2 separate regions of the Homo sapiens genome follow, and region 2 is linked to region 1. Evidence: promoter capture Hi-C in 16 types of primary human blood cells and fetal thymus (Javierre and others, 2016). All regions are on one chromosome and are shown on one strand. Each heading gives the region's core, a stretch centred on a gene start or on the middle of the fragment in contact. The rest is flanking DNA. Distances are from core to core; before and after follow the strand shown.

The links. Contacts are between HindIII fragments. The CHiCAGO score rates a contact against its expected background, and 5 or more counts as called.
Region 2: a fragment that was not itself captured here is called in contact with the fragment with the promoter of GOT1 in region 1 in 1 of 17 cell types (total CD4 T cells); the score reaches 8.9 in total CD4 T cells.

What each region holds. Positions count from the first base shown.
Region 1 is chr10:99,426,697-99,434,334 of GRCh38, forward strand. It overlaps GOT1 (glutamic-oxaloacetic transaminase 1), which reads right to left and starts at 3,928. Exons shown (of 9, transcript NM_002079.3): 1 at 3,752-3,928. The coding sequence starts at 3,869. GOT1-DT (GOT1 divergent transcript) reads left to right here and starts at 4,240. Exons shown (of 5, transcript NR_183993.1): 1 at 4,240-4,569; 2 at 6,850-6,935; 3 at 7,044-7,244. RefSeq lists enhancers at 3,769-3,828, 3,849-3,898, 4,079-4,508. The HindIII fragment of the contact is 734 bases long and covers 3,279-4,012 here.
Region 2 is chr10:125,721,975-125,729,612 of GRCh38, forward strand. It overlaps EDRF1 (erythroid differentiation regulatory factor 1), which reads left to right. Exons shown (of 25, transcript NM_001202438.2): 3 at 1,094-1,160; 4 at 1,837-1,962; 5 at 3,344-3,468; 6 at 3,708-3,864; 7 at 7,029-7,130; 8 at 7,384-7,505. Among named protein-coding and RNA genes, the nearest start is that of EDRF1, 6.1 kb to the left of the region's middle. The HindIII fragment of the contact is 1,424 bases long and covers 2,108-3,531 here.

The DNA.
Region 1 (7,638 bases), core at 2,678-5,177:
AGCATTGTGCTTAGCAGTGGAAAATGTGATACTCTCCTCTGTTTACCTATAAGGAAATTATTTAAATCATCACAGCAAGAAGAAAAACTGAGGAAACTAGCTGCAAGTAGGAACTGTCTGAGATTACAGGTGCAGTTTATTCTAAACGTGTCCAAAATCACTGGAACATTAACTAGATAACCTCCATTAGGTTTTATATTAACTTGGGGGAAAAAAAGTATCTTCCCTAAGGTCAATGATTAATTACATTTTCTTCACAAGGGGTATACTTGGGGATGTGTATAAATAAGACTAGGACATATAACGGCTGGAAGGAGACCTTTTATTCTACTCTAATTAGATCCTTATCCAAACACCTGCTATCCACAAAAAGACGGGTCACAGTGATGATCAAAAATAACACTTATATATGACACTTTTCATTTATATATCACATTTCACATATAATTATTCATTTAATCCTCAGACAACTGATGAGGCCAGTAAAATTATTATCCTACGCTACAGTCATAGAATGTGCTAGTGAATTGTGGAGTTGACTTTTAGTACAGTAGAATCTTTTTTATTTATTTATTTATTTATTTATTTTTGAGACGGAGTCTCACTCTGTTGCCCAGGCTGGAGTGCAGTGGCGCGATCTCAGCTCACTGCAAGCTCCGCCTCCTGGGTTCACGCCATTCTCCTGCCTCAGCCTCCCGTGTAGCTGGGACTGCAGGCGCCCGCCACCACGCCCTGCTAATTTTTTTGTATTTTTAGTAGAGACGGGGTTTCACCGTGTTAGCCAGGATGGTCTCAATCTCCTGACCTCGTGATCCGCCCGCCTCGGCCTCCCAAAGCGTTGGGATTACAGGCGTGAGCCACCATGCCTGGCCCAGTAGAATCTTAAGAGTAGAATTTGGGAGAGAGGTCATTCAATCTTGGCTCCTCATTTAACAGATGAGCCCCAGGGATGTTAAACAACCCTTCCAAGTCACATGGCTGGACCACGGTGCTGGGCCTGTACCTAGGTCTCCTGGCTCTTCCCACTACAGTGTACTGGCTACCACCTGGAGGTACCTGAAATACAGGTGTGGGCAGAGACTCTGAGGCCTGAGAGACCTGGCCTGGATTCCCAGCTCTACCACCCAGTGGTCAAATGACCTGGGGCAAATTGCTTCACCTCTCCAGTCTTCGGCTTCCTTGCCTCTAAACAGTAATAGTAATAAACCACCCTCCAGAGTTGTGAGCATTCAGTGAGATTACATGCATAAATAATTTGCTCATGGTAAGGAGTTGGAGTTCCTGGAAAACATGACAAAGGCACCTTCACAGCTGAGGTGGCCGTCTGAGTCAATGACTCCAATTCTGAGTCCATTGCTTCTGGCCTGTGCTGTCGGGGTGCTTTTTCTCTGCAGGAGCAGTTTATTTCTGAACCAAGGTCATAAATTAGTTCATTTTGCAGTTCTTGAACTGAAAATTTTTATTCAATATCTTTTATGAGAATCACTCAAAGAAATGCCAAAACAACAATAACAGTAATACCTAACACTTATATAAATCCTACTTATGTGCCAAATACAGCTATAAACACTTTAAATGTACTTAATCCTCACAGAAACCCTGTAAGATAGTTCAAAGGTAAATTGAATTAATAAAATAAATCTGACGTGGTTTTTTGTTTTTTTTTTTCTTTCTTTCTTGAGACGGAGTCTCACTCTGTTACCCAGGCTGGAGTACAATGGCGTGATCTTGGCTCACTGCAACCGCCACCTCCCAGGTTCAAGCGATTCTCCTGCTTCAGCCTCCCAAGTAGCTGTGACTACCAGTGTGCACCACCACGTCTGGCTAATTTTTGTATTTTTAGTAAAGATGGGGTTTCACCATGTTAGCCAGGCTGGTCTCGAACTCCTGACCTCAGGTGATCCACCTGCCTTGGCCTCCCAAAGTGCTGGGATTACAGGCGTGAGCCACCGTGGCAGGCAAAATCTGACGTTTTAAAAAGATGTATTTAGATTGACAGTAATACTAGTTCTTTGTATACATCCCGCTGCAAAGAAACGCTTGGAGGTTTTGGACTGGTTTTAAATTAAGAGACCAAATGGTGTCCATTCAAATTCAATTTGAGGCAATCTTTCAACATTTCTCCCACTCAGTTGCCTGCTAAAAACATCATTTTCCCTCAATGGGCCAAACTATGTAGTACTGACTTATCTTAAAAGCTTTATGATGAAAAATTTCAAACCTATACAAAAGCTGAGAGAATAATATAACGTATGCCCATGTACCCATCATCCAGCTTCAACAAATTACCCGCTTCAACAAACCATCACTTTTCAATGGATTTTTCCTTACCCCTCCCCATACTCCTTAGTGAAGACTTTTTTTTTTTTTTGAGAAAGAGTCTCGCTCTGTCGCCCAGCCTGGAGTGCAATGGCACGATCTCGGCTCACTGCAACCTCCGTCTCCCGGGTTTAAGCAATTCTTCTGCCTCAGCCTCCCGAGTACCTGGGACTATAGGCGGCCAACACCACGCCCGGATACTTTTTTGTATTTTTAGTAGAGATGGGGTTTCACCGTGTTAGCCACGATGGTCTCATCTCCTGACCTCGTGATCCGCCCGTCTCAGCCTCCCAAAGTGCTGGGATTACAGGCCTGAGCCACCGCGCCCGGCCGACTTTTTTTTTTTTTTTTTAACAAATGCTATGCACAGACAAAACGTTATCTATGAGAAACCTGATTCTGAGCGTCCTTCATGTCACACTCTGCTACAAAATGATTCCACCTTCTCTTTCCACAATTTCTAGTCCTTTTATTCTAAGTCTATTACCTAGCATAAGACTTTATCCTACCCATTTTCATCTCTCTGGCTGGTCTTTGCACGTGGCAAAATCCAAATGGAGAAAATAAGTGTCTGTGGGGCTTCAAACATCCAAATGATAGTGAGAAGAATAACAAATTCATCAGAGAGGGTTAGGGGTAAAAAATTTGAGAGGCACTCCAATATAAATCTTCTTGGCAGATGGGGAAACTGAGGCCCATGCTCTGAGCTGTCCAAGGTACAGAAGAGAATCACTTGAATCAAGAAATGAAGATAGGATGTGTGGAAAGTAAGCTTCTACCATCCATACTTCTCTCCACTCCTTTCCACCATCTCTACCCATTCCTACCACATCTGTGACGGCCAGAACCATCTCCCCAGACCCCCCGGGGGCAGCATTAACCTGTCTCAAAGCATTGTGTAACACCAGCAGATTTTTAAATCCTTAAGGGCAAAATCAAGCCTCAGTCTCCCCCTACAAAGCTTAATAAGGTGGCTGATTGATACTCGGTGGTCACTCAAATATTTACCGACTCAGAACAGAGCTTTCTAGCGTTAAAAGTTCTCCTTTACCCATTTCCTAGCAACCAGAACCCTAAGCCTATCAGGCTTCCTATTTTTCTACCTCTCTCTACAAGCTCCGGCAGCCTCATTTCTTAGGAGGATGCAGTATAAAGAAGGCAGAATGGGGAATCGGAAAGACTGAGTTTGTGTCTTGGCTGCTACACCTGGTTTGTGCGGCCTCGGACACATCGCCCCTTTCCAGGGACTCCACACCTGCATCTGTAAAATGGGCAGGTTTTAGGAAGCCTTCGTGGATCCAGCCTCCTCTCCGGCGCCGCCCTCTTCAGGCAGCGCCACACTGGGCCTCGGCTTCTCCCACAGTCTCCACGACCTGGGTTGGGTCCGCTCCACTCCCCGAGCTGCTCACACTCCAGAGCACTACATCCTTACCTCCCACTCCCAGGTTGACCTTGCGGGGGTCCGGATCCTCCCTGAAGTCGGCAGTGAGCTTGAAGACCAGGACAGGCTGGGCCTGCGGAACCTCGGCAAAGACTGACGGAGGTGCCATATCGAGAGACTAGGAATCAAGAGATTTCACCCCACGCCCGGAGCTGGCAGGTCAGGTCTGGCCGTTGCGACTGGAGGAGACACTCACCTTCACCTAGCCGGCGGGGGCGGGCCCGCGGCCTCCAATGGTCGAGCCGCGTCCAAAGCTTGGCAACGCGATTAACCAATCGCCAGCTTCTGACGACGAAGGCACAGGGGAGAAGGAACGCTATTAGCCAATCCAAGAAAACAATTTATCGGCTGCCGAGAATGATGCAACCAATGCAATTTCCTCCGGCTGAGGCGTGGGCGAAGACTACGGTTGATTGGTAGAGCGTGCTCCTATCGCAGAGGCTGTTATTCCTTGGGTCTCCCGGCTGAGGGGAGGAGCCGAGCGAGCGGCGGGTGTCCCTGAGAGGCCACCTTTCGACCTTCGAGGGCCAGGAGGATACGGGGAGGTGGCCGGAGGGAGTTCCCGAACACAGGTCTTCCTGTTCCCGCCGAGCAGGTGTTGGCGGTGCCAGGCCCGGCCTGGCGGGCCCGGGCTGGCAGCCAAATACCCAGCGTCTGTGCTCGGGACGGGAGTGTTCGTCCAGGACGTGCAGCTCCGGAGCCTGCGCGGGCGACCTTGACCACCTTTGTCGGCTGTTTCCCCCTGAGGGAAGTATACCTGTCCTGCCAGCCTTGGTCTCTGGCAGGGAAGGTCCTTCCAACAGAGAGGGGTGCGCACGAATTCCTTTTTGCCGCTCTTCTATTAATAGTTTGAGATTTTCCTCCCCGATTCCTTGCAGAGAGGGCCTGGTCCTCAAGGACCTCGGGATCTGGGCGCGACGTCCCTTCCCAGCTTCCTCCCGCGCGCACCGGACCAGATCTTGCTGTCGTCAGCTGGCTGGTACCCAAAGTTCCTCTTCGTCAGGCTGTTCCTTCCCCGTTAGAGTCCTTCCTCCCCAGGAGCCCTCTCCATCTGCTGACCTTCAAGACCCAGAGCGAATGCCACTTCATCCATGAAGCCTTCCCTTAACCCTTATCTGGCCAAAATGTCTCTTTCCTGTGCTTCTGTACTTTCACAATTTTAGAAAATGCCTTTGTGGTTAAAAACCTATCTCCGGGACCGGACTATCTAGGTTTAGATTCTGGCTGCCGCTTACGAATTTGGGCAGGTTTAGTCAAGTTATTTTAACCTCTCTGTGGAAGTTCCTGCTCTGTGGAAATAATAGTATTTTCCTCAGAGTTGGTGTGGGGAGTTTGTGAGTTAATACATTTACGAAGTGGTTAGTTGCATGTAAGAAGGACTCTCTAAATGTCAGCTATTATTAACATTGCATATCTGCCACACCCTTCATAGATGGTAAACTGCTTTTTTTTTTTTTTTTACTTTTATTTTAGGTTCGGGATACATGCACAGGTTTGTTTTATAGATAAATTGCTTGTCATGTGGGTTTGTTGTACAAATTATTTTGTCACCCAGATAGTAAGCATAGTACTTGACAGGTATTTTTTCTGATCCTCTCCCTCCTCCCACCCTCTAGCCTCAAGTAGGTCCCAGTGTCTGTTGTTCTCTTCTTTGTGTCCATGTGTTCTCAATGTTTAGCTCCCACTTACAAGTCAGAACATGCAGTATTTGGTTTTCTCTTCCGCATTAGTTCACTTAGGATAAAGGCCTCCAGCTCCATCCATGTTGCTACAAAGGACATGATCTCTTTCTTTTTTATGGCTGCATAGTAGTCCATGGTGTATATGTACCGTATTTTCTTCAGTCTACTGGTGATGGGCATTTAGGTTGATGCCATGTCTTTACGATTGTGAATAGTGCTGCAGTGAACATACATGTACATATATCTTTATGGTAGAATGATTTATATTCTTTTGGGTATAGACCCAATACTGGGATTGTTGGGTCGAATGGTAATTCTGTTTTAAGTTCTTTGAGAAATCGCCACACTGCTTTCCGCGGTTACTGAACTAATTTACATTCCCACCAGCATTGTATAAGCATTCCCTTTTCTCCACAACCTCACCAGAAACCAGCATCTGTTATTTCTTGACTTTTATTAATAGCCATTCTGACTGGTGTGAGATGATATCTCATTGTAGTTTTGATTTGGGTTTCTCTAGTGATTAGTGATGTTGAGTATTTTATATGCTTGTTGGCCATGTAGCTTCTTTTGGCTAGGGACCTGTGAGTCTCCCTAGGTTTCTTGCACTTACTAAGCCTTCAACAAATGGTAGAAGAGTCAATTCTCTTGGTGTTTCAGAAGAAAACAATATCACAGCCCCTCTCCACTGGATAATACTATAAATCTTAAAATGAATTTTCATTCAGAGTAATAAACACAAGCCAAAGAACTTTGTATAACATCCGTCAACTTTTTGTGTTATCTATTTCTTTTCCAAAACATTGCCTCTGGTTTTAAAGGTAACTGCCCACAGTGTTTCACTAATAACATTTTAAGCATTACAAGTTCAACACTGAAGGTCAAATGACAACGAACTTTCAGTGCTTCCAAAAGCAGGGGCAGAGGGCAACTGCTGAGGGGGGCATTGTATAGCCTAACCTTCCCAGAATTTGATTTAAAAGTATGATCTTCACAGCGTTGGCCAGCAATATCATGGTCACTCCCTACGTCATTCCCTGGGAGAAAAACAACCCTAGGTTACCTAAACAATGTTGGCGAAGACCAAATATTTATTAACATCCTAAGCCGCCCCATAATCAAGCCAATGCTGATAGGGACAAAGAAGGTGCCATGTGCAGTTTTTCTCCATGTCCCCACAATATCTGCTCTGAATTTTAAAAGGCAATTACTGGGGGAGAAGGAAGCCTATATATTATGTAGGATCCAAGTCTCAAACTGCTTTCCTAGGGAGTGTGAGGTTCTTGGAGATTAAGTGCAGTACCTTTCTGTCTTGAGCCTTGTAGGCTGCCCCTCTAATTTAATGCCAGTCTTGAAATAAACAGAATGCTTTCCAAGTCATCGCTAATTTTAACACTTTAAATTTAGAATTGCTTAGAATTGACTCAACACTGCCTCCTTGCTGAATGGATAATTCAAGCAAACAACTCAAGAGCTGGATGCTGCCCAGACAGGTAGGCAGCCAGATAAAGTGAGTGTCCAGGGAAAGAGCAGTAAGGGTCAGAAGAGAAAGAGCCTGGTGTTCTCACTGCCTCCTGCCTTCCTTATGACTGTCTGTTCAGAAGTCCTCCTAGCATCTTTCTTCTGCCTTCCCCTGCTCCTGTCCCTGAAACCTTTTCTTCAAAAGAAGTGGAAAAGAGGAACTGGGAACCCATATAGCAACAGCATCACCTGGAATGAATTCCTTTAGAACATACTGTCTTGGAAATCTGAAGCCTGCAGGGCTGGACAGGCAAGAAGAGCAGTGAGCACTGCATGAACCTGTAAGTAAATCTGCATGTGGATGGTGTTTTGGGTTTTTTTCAGACAGAGCCTTACTCTGTTGCATAGGCTGGAGTGCAGTGGCACGATCTTGGCTCACTGCAACCTCTGCCTCCTGGGCTCAGGTGATTGTCCCACCTCAACCTCTCAAGTAGCTGGGACCACAGGTGTGCACCAACATGCGCAGCTAATTTTTGTAGAGATGGGGTTTCGCCGTGTTGGCCAAGCTGGTCTCGAACTCCTGGGCCAAGCAATCGGCCTCCCAAAGTGTTGAGATTACAGGCGTGAGCTACTGCACCAGGCCACACATGCTTATTTTACTCAGTCTTGCCCCTGAATACCCGAAGGTCTAAACTTAGGAAAAAGTCAGGGGAGGGATGAGTTTGTCATTCTTTG
Region 2 (7,638 bases), core at 1,570-4,069, about 26 Mb after region 1:
TTTTCTTCTTCCCCCTTCTCAGCAACTCAATCTAAAATATTTCCATGTAACTTGTAGCAAGAGGCACAAATACACTAATACTTTATGAGCTGGTATTTTGGAAATTATCCTAAAGCCTCAGAAAATAAAAGTTATATTTGCAAAAATGCTGTTTGTTTGTAGCATCATTTATAGGAGCAAAAAGTTGGGAATAACCCAAATATCATTTTTTAAAAGAATGGCTTAATCAGTTGTGATTTGTCAACATAATTAAATGTTGTGAGGAAATTTGAATAATTATATTGACTCTATACAAATGCTGTGGCAAGTATTTATATGCTTATCTCATTTAATTCTCACAACAACTCTTTGAGATAGGCACTGTTAATTATATTGCACCTGAGAAAACGGAAGCTGAGAAGAGCTAAATAATTTGGCTCAAGCATACAGTAAATCACAAAGCATGCTTTGCTGTTAGGTAGTCCTTGGTAAGTGTCCTGACTCTGCCATTTAGTAGTTGGAACATGGTGATGTCGGGTACCTTTCAGGCTTATAGACTATAGATGTGCTTCAGGTGGTACGTGGCATCAGTTGGCTGCTCAATTAACATTTTTTTTTAATTTCCTTTTGTGGCTGAATTGGTGTCAGGTACATTTTTTTCATGTATTTTTTTAAGAGGTATTGTATATCACTAGAAACACAATCTCAGAAAGTAAAATCCTGATAAATGTTTCTGTTTCTGTTTTTCTTATCTCTCCACCTAAAAAGAATAAAGTTTTGAACTATTTTCCCTTGGAGACTTTGAGTTTTGTGATTACAAAAATAAAGAATAATTGTTTTTATTCTAAATATTTCCTACTGGATGCTTCTAATGATTATTACCATGTTTTATCAAATCTAAGATGCCATTGACTTTAAGACACACCATTATTTTAGTACCACTAAGAAAAAAAAACTTGCCAACTGTGATGGTGATACACATCCTGGTTTCAGAGTTGTTAAAATGTGGAAAATGTGTATCCTAGAAGCAATGAGCTACAGTATTGTTATTAAGCTCTACTTGCATGATTATGAGCATGACCTCATAACCTGTGTCCTTTTTTCTCTTTGGTAGCTTTGGCATGGCATATGACTTTATTGATTCAGTGGGAAATGATGTGGATGTTGTCTCTGACTCTGAAGTAAGTGTTATTTGTCGCTTAATGTAATTTTGGAGGTGTTTTGTGATAGGTGTTTTATATCATGCTGTGTTTTGCATAATATAAATGTGCAAGTCTTGAGAAATTAGTGATGAAATAAGATAAAACTTACCTGATTATTGAGTATCTTTTTTGTTGTTAAAGTATCATTGTTTACCACATTTGTATTTAAAGAGGAAGGAATAATCAATCCCCAAACACTGGCAGTGGTAATAATATATTGATGGTTATATTTTAATGATAGTAATTGAAACTGATAATAGTGTTTGGGATTATTCTGTATATGTTACCAGTTGAGTTACAAATGATATTTCTAGTAAAATCTATTGGATCCTTAGTGGCTTTGATCTGATATGCTAAAAGCCTGGGTCAGCATAACAGTGTGACGTATACACCCTTAACTTTAAGAAATCCTATCATGTAAAAATAAATGTTTGACTGTCACTAACATAATGTGACTCATAAAGTGTACGTGATTCTGGTTTGAAAGCTCCGTCCTCTGTGTGTTTGCATGTAGCTTTTTGTTTAAAGTTCTATTTGTATAACCTTAAGGAAATAAGGTTTATTATGCTTTAAAATGAATGAAGCTAAAATTTAAAAGATTCCAAATCACACTAAAACAGTCTTTCTAAACTATTTTTTCTCTTAATTTTTTAAGAACATAAAAAAACTCCTGAAAATTCCCTACAGCAAGTCGCACGTGAGCATGGCAGTACACCGCATAGGAAGGACTCTCTTACTAGATGAGCTAGATATTCAAGAACTCTTTATGAGATCGTCTCAGGTAATGCTTTTGTGAAAAAATCCAACAAAACATTAACAGCTTAAGAGCACTAGAAATACGATTTTGTTTCAGAGAATGGCCAAAGTGGAAATGTAGTTGAGTACTTCAACAATCGAGAAATTGAAAGTTTCACTGAAGATAGAAAAGCTTGAATGAAGAAAAAAGAAGAGAATGAGAATGGTGAAGAAAATTATTTTATTGATTCCAACAGCCAGATTCTTTTTTACAAGAAAAAAGATGAAGCCAATGAAGAAAGTTGTGAAAAAAACTGTGAAATTTAAGGGACTAGTTTAATATTTTTAAGAATCCTTTAACGTCTCCCTTAAACAGATTCTCAGGAAACACAGCTACTGGAAAATGTGAAAAATATTAGAAGCTGTTCCTATGAATAAATACAGTCATGTTCCCATAATGACGTTTCAGTCAGCGATGGACTGCATATACCGGTGGTCCCATAAGATTATAATATACTGTATTTTTACTGTATTTGCAGTGTTCAGATACACAAATACTTCAGTCACATGTACAGATTTGTAGCCTGGGAGCAATAGGCTATACCGTATGACCTAGGTAGGGAGTAGGCTGTACCATCCAGGTTTCTATAAGTAACACTCTGCGATGTTCACACCAGGACAAAATCACCTAATGACGCGCTTCTCAGAATATATCCCCATTGTTAAATGACACATGGCTGTAGTTATTAGAATTAATTGATGCTCTTTAGCCTAGATTCTCAAATTGTATGTTGGTAAGGACTGTTTTTCCCACATGTTGAGAATGGATACTTTTGAAAAACATAATAACATTGTTGCAGTTTCTCAAGAACTACCCTCCATATCTGTACTTTTCTTGGGCTGGCAAGAAATAGTTCATGGTCAGTCTTTAAAGAATATTACTACAGTGCTTTGATAAAGAAAATTAAATTATGGTGAGGTAAATGACATTTAAAATAAGTGCTTTTTTCCTTTGAAAAGACCACCGTTTAGTTCATCATGTGAGTATGAGCCTAGGCACGGGGATGTGACAGTGAACAAATCACAGGCCTTGCTCCTCAGCAGTTCATTGTTTGGGGTTATAAACACATACACAGATCATTTCAATATAGTGTGCAAAGTGGGAACTACTGCAGCTGCTAAGGAACATGTTATAGAGAAGACTCACCTCTCCCAGCCTGGCTTAGGAGGAGGAAGACGGGTTTCCTTTAGGAAACAAAAAACAAAAGAAAGGTGGTATGAATTGACCCAGAAAGATATGTTTTTAATGAGTATGTGTTTATGAAACTATTCAAAAAATAATAGGAGCCTTTTCTGTAAGCTAGTACTAGGTAACATTGTTTCGACTATGTGTGTTGTATTAATAATATGTATCTCATGTTATCCAGACTGGTGACTGGACATGGTTGAAAGAGTTTTATCAAAGACTCATTGATCAGAAGTGGCAGAGGAAGAAAAAGAGCAAAGAGCACTGGTATCAAAAGGCAATTCTTTCCAAGTTTTTATATTACAGGTACTTGGCTACTTATTTATCTCTAAAGAGAAAAAGGGAATTCTGATCTAAAATTTAGTGTGAAGCTTAATGAAGTTATAATTTAAGTTTTGCCCCTGTGATACTGTTAACATTTGTTTCATATTTCTTTTTTACAAGATGTATGCTTAATTACAGATTGTAGTTTTTATAAACGGGTAGACTGTTGCATGAAGTTAACTTTAGTAACAGCAATCCTTTTTTATTTCTGGTTTGGCCAGTATCAATGGTGATGGAGCCGCTCAGCCTGTCTCATCCACCGCAGAACAGCAGGAATCGTCCAGTTCAGATCAGACAAATGATTCGGAAGGGGCTTCATGGCCTGCTCCCTTCGAAATGCCTTCTTCAGTTTCTGAAGATCCCAGTGCTTCCAGTCAGGTTAGTACTTAAATGCTAATTCTAGAAACTCACATAGGAAAACAAAGCCTTTTTTAACATCTCGTTAAAAAAAAAAAAAGATGAACAGGACTAAGAAATATTCTGTCAGCTTATGGAATGGGGGAAAAAAGACTTCTGTCAATTTATGGAATTGGAGAAATACTTTTTAGTTTTTCGCAATAGAATTTACAAGAGCTATTATAGGTGGGGAGATCAGATTTTTTTATTAAATCGAAATATAATAGTTGACTGATATGTTTATTAATACTGATTATCTCCTTCAAGTGATGAGTATTATATAGAGATATAGTATATTTTAATTATAAATACTAGTCATTTTTAACTATAAATACTATTTTAACTATAAATATCTGTCAATATTTGATAGACATTTCCTACCAAATATTGAGACTCAGAGACCCATTTGTAATTTAAGTTCTAACCTTTTTACCATAACTTTCAGTCAGATTGTTAGACCTAAAATATCCCTTTAAGGTTTTCCAGATAAAATTCCTGAAACTTAGTCCACATTCATGTTATAAAAGTTTTAGAAAAGAGAATGAACTAGGTTGTCCATTTTATCTCTTACATCCTTGTTTCTTCCTAATGCTTGTTTATTTTTGTACTTACTGTATCTATCAAAGAATAAAATAAAGCCATAGATGTAAATTGTGACATGTCTATTTTCAGGAAAATAGATTGATAAATAGATAATAAGATCTGTGACTTGATAAGTTACGTCTTCCCTCTTGCTGTTGTGTTCCCACATATTGAGCACTATTCAACCAGATTGTTTCAATCTTCACAAATTACAGGGAGCAGATACATTTAACTCGATTTTAGTTTCAGTAGGTTTAAGATAGAGAAAGCATCCCATAAAACTCCATAATGAATTTAAATTTCTTTCAAAAGTGAGAAAAATGTAAGGAAAAGGAAGTAATTAATATGCAAGTCACATAGTGGTAACAACCAAGAAGTAGGGATGTTCTATGATTCAGAAGGGAGAAAAGACTACATAATACAAATACTACCCTCCTATTACCCATGTCACCCATCTCCCAGTGTTGTTCTGTCTTTACCTTGTTTAGGAATTACTGTGAAAACTCTTGGAGAGTCGGGAATCTGTAGACTTGCGTGTTGAGGAAGCAAGCTGGCATTTACTGAATAGCTCTTATGCCATGTGTATGTTTGTACAAGGTTTTTTTTTTCATTCTTGGAGCTGCGTATTGTACAAATAAGTAAACTAACGCTCATCAAAAGATGTTTCACATGGTCATACAGCTGGCGAAACTCTCAGGCTAGGGCTTAAACCCAGATCTTTCTGCCTGCAGAGGCCTGTTCCTCCAGCAGTACTCCACTGTGTCCGTGTACTCCACACACAGCAAGGCCCTACTAACAGTCAGATCATCGTAGTAGTGGTGTATCCCTAGGCACAGCTAGCCTGCCTTAAGAGTCTCTTACAGAGTACTTTTCTTATATTGCTTAAATTTCAGCTTTAGAGATTTGTTTATATTTGCAAGCTATCTCTGCACAAATTCTTGTTCCAAAAACTAAAACTGCTGGCTTGAGGCCTTTGTTAAGCAGTTATAGAGGTTAAATAGGTGACTGTGGGATGGTCCTAGAGCCAGACATTTATTGAGAACGTTGTAACCTAGAGCTCATACTCTGACTAAAGCAACTGCCTGGCAAACTGTTTTGAGAATCGGTTCATGAGTTGATAACTTGTCTGTGTAAACAAATAATAAAATAAAAAAGAGTTTAAAGTTCTCTTAGGACTCCTGAGGGAGAGGACAAGGCACAATAGAAGTGCTAGAGAGCCACCTGTGCTTATAGTCACACACTCTTCCCAAGCAGGTGCCAAGCCTACTGGCACACACAGATGACAAGTAAGACAGATGTTTGTGGAATAAGCAACACACGCATGCCTGTCTTGGGTTCTGTTGAGGCAATGACATTAAAAGCTTAAAGTAGTATTTCTTAATGGCAGTACTACTTTCCTAATGATTGGAAAATTGAGTGGTAGGCTGAGTTTACCCAGTGTCAAGAGGGCCCAAGTGTATTCCAAAATGCATTCCAGGCTGGGCGCAGTGGCTTATGCCTGTAATCCCAGCACTTTGGGAGGCCGAGGTGGGTGGATCACTTGAGGCCCGGAGTTAGAGACCAGCCTGGCCAACATGGCGAAACCCCATCTCTATTTAAAAAAAGAAAAAAAAATTAGCCGGGCATGGTGGCACGTGCCTGTAATCCCAGCTACTCGGGAGGCTGAGGTAGGAGAATTGCTTGAACCCAGGAGGCGGAGGTTGCAGTGAGCTGAGATCATGTCACTGCACTCTGGCCTGGGCAACTCTGTCTCAAAAAAAAAAAAAAAAGTATTCCAGAGAATATCTTAAGAACAAAAAGTGTTCTGAGATTAAATACATTTGGGAAACATTGGTTTTTACAAAGATAAAGTAGATTTTTCTATTGCAGGATTACTTATTATATATTTATTGTTTTAATATCAATAAATATTGTTACTCCACAAAAGTGAGTACCTGGTAAACGTCATCTTTCAAACCTGACTCTGGAAAATTTTCATTCAGTTTCCCAGGAACTAGTGTTCTGTGAAACACTCATCAGGAAATGCTAAACTGGAGACTGTTAAGATAATGAGTATCTCAAACTGTGGCTGAGTAAGATTTCTTAGGGTTTCTTTTTTTTAAGAGACAGACTCTCATTATGTTGTCCAGGCTGGATTCGAACTCCTGGGCTCAAGCAGTTCTCCCCTGTCGACCTCCCACATAGCTTGGACTACAAGCACATGCCATCGTGCCTGGCCAGTTTCTTAGGAATTTTTAAATTCAATATAGATAGAGTAGGCTGAAAGAGCAGTGGTAATCAGATGCACCAAAAAAGAGAAAAATGAAAAACTTAGAAAGTTTAGAATAATCTTTAATCTATCTCTCTTGAGTAAGATCTAAATGTGATTCGCTTCTTATAGTAGCTATGATCATTAGCCAAAGCAAGCCACCCAATGAGGCGTGTTATTATTTGTATTGGCCTAATAATTCACAATGGTAGATTTGAAGTGTGTGCTTTGAATATTTAGGTGATACTCTCAAAAGTGGGTCAATTTTAAGAAATGTTGACAGCAGAATCACTCCTTATCCTTGCACTTTTCACAGGGAAGTGAGCCTCTTGAACCCTCATACATAGTGGGGCATGTGGCCTCAGCCCCCAAAGAACAAAACCTGATTACTTTATTCAATGACGGGGAGCACAGTCAGGTATGCTTTCCATGGTGTCCAAGGTGACAGCAAATCCCCAGTCTACTTTGTCATTTCAAAACTAGCCTAAGTCGAAATTGATAGGGAAAAACTCCACTTGATCCTGAAACTGCTTTCTAAGCATCTTTGTGATCTTAGCTCTGGGGCCTGACTTTGTCTTCTTTGTCTCTTCCTTTTTCTAGTCTTTTTATGGATCATGGGGGGAAATTACAGATTGACTGTTTATTATAATCCTCCCTATTTTAAATCACAGGGTCTTAAAAATGATTTTGTTCGGAATATTCTATGGACATTTGAAGATATCCATATGTTGGTCGGCTCCAACATGCCCATATTTGGAGGAGGCAGATACCCAGCAGTCAGCTTACGTCTCAGGTGAACTAACATCATACCCCTCCTCAAGCTTATGGTATTTAAATTCTTCCTTTAGAATCAGTGTTCCATCAGACTGAGGTTGCAGTGAGCCAAGATCATGCTACCGCACTCCAGCCTAGGCGAAAGAGCAAGA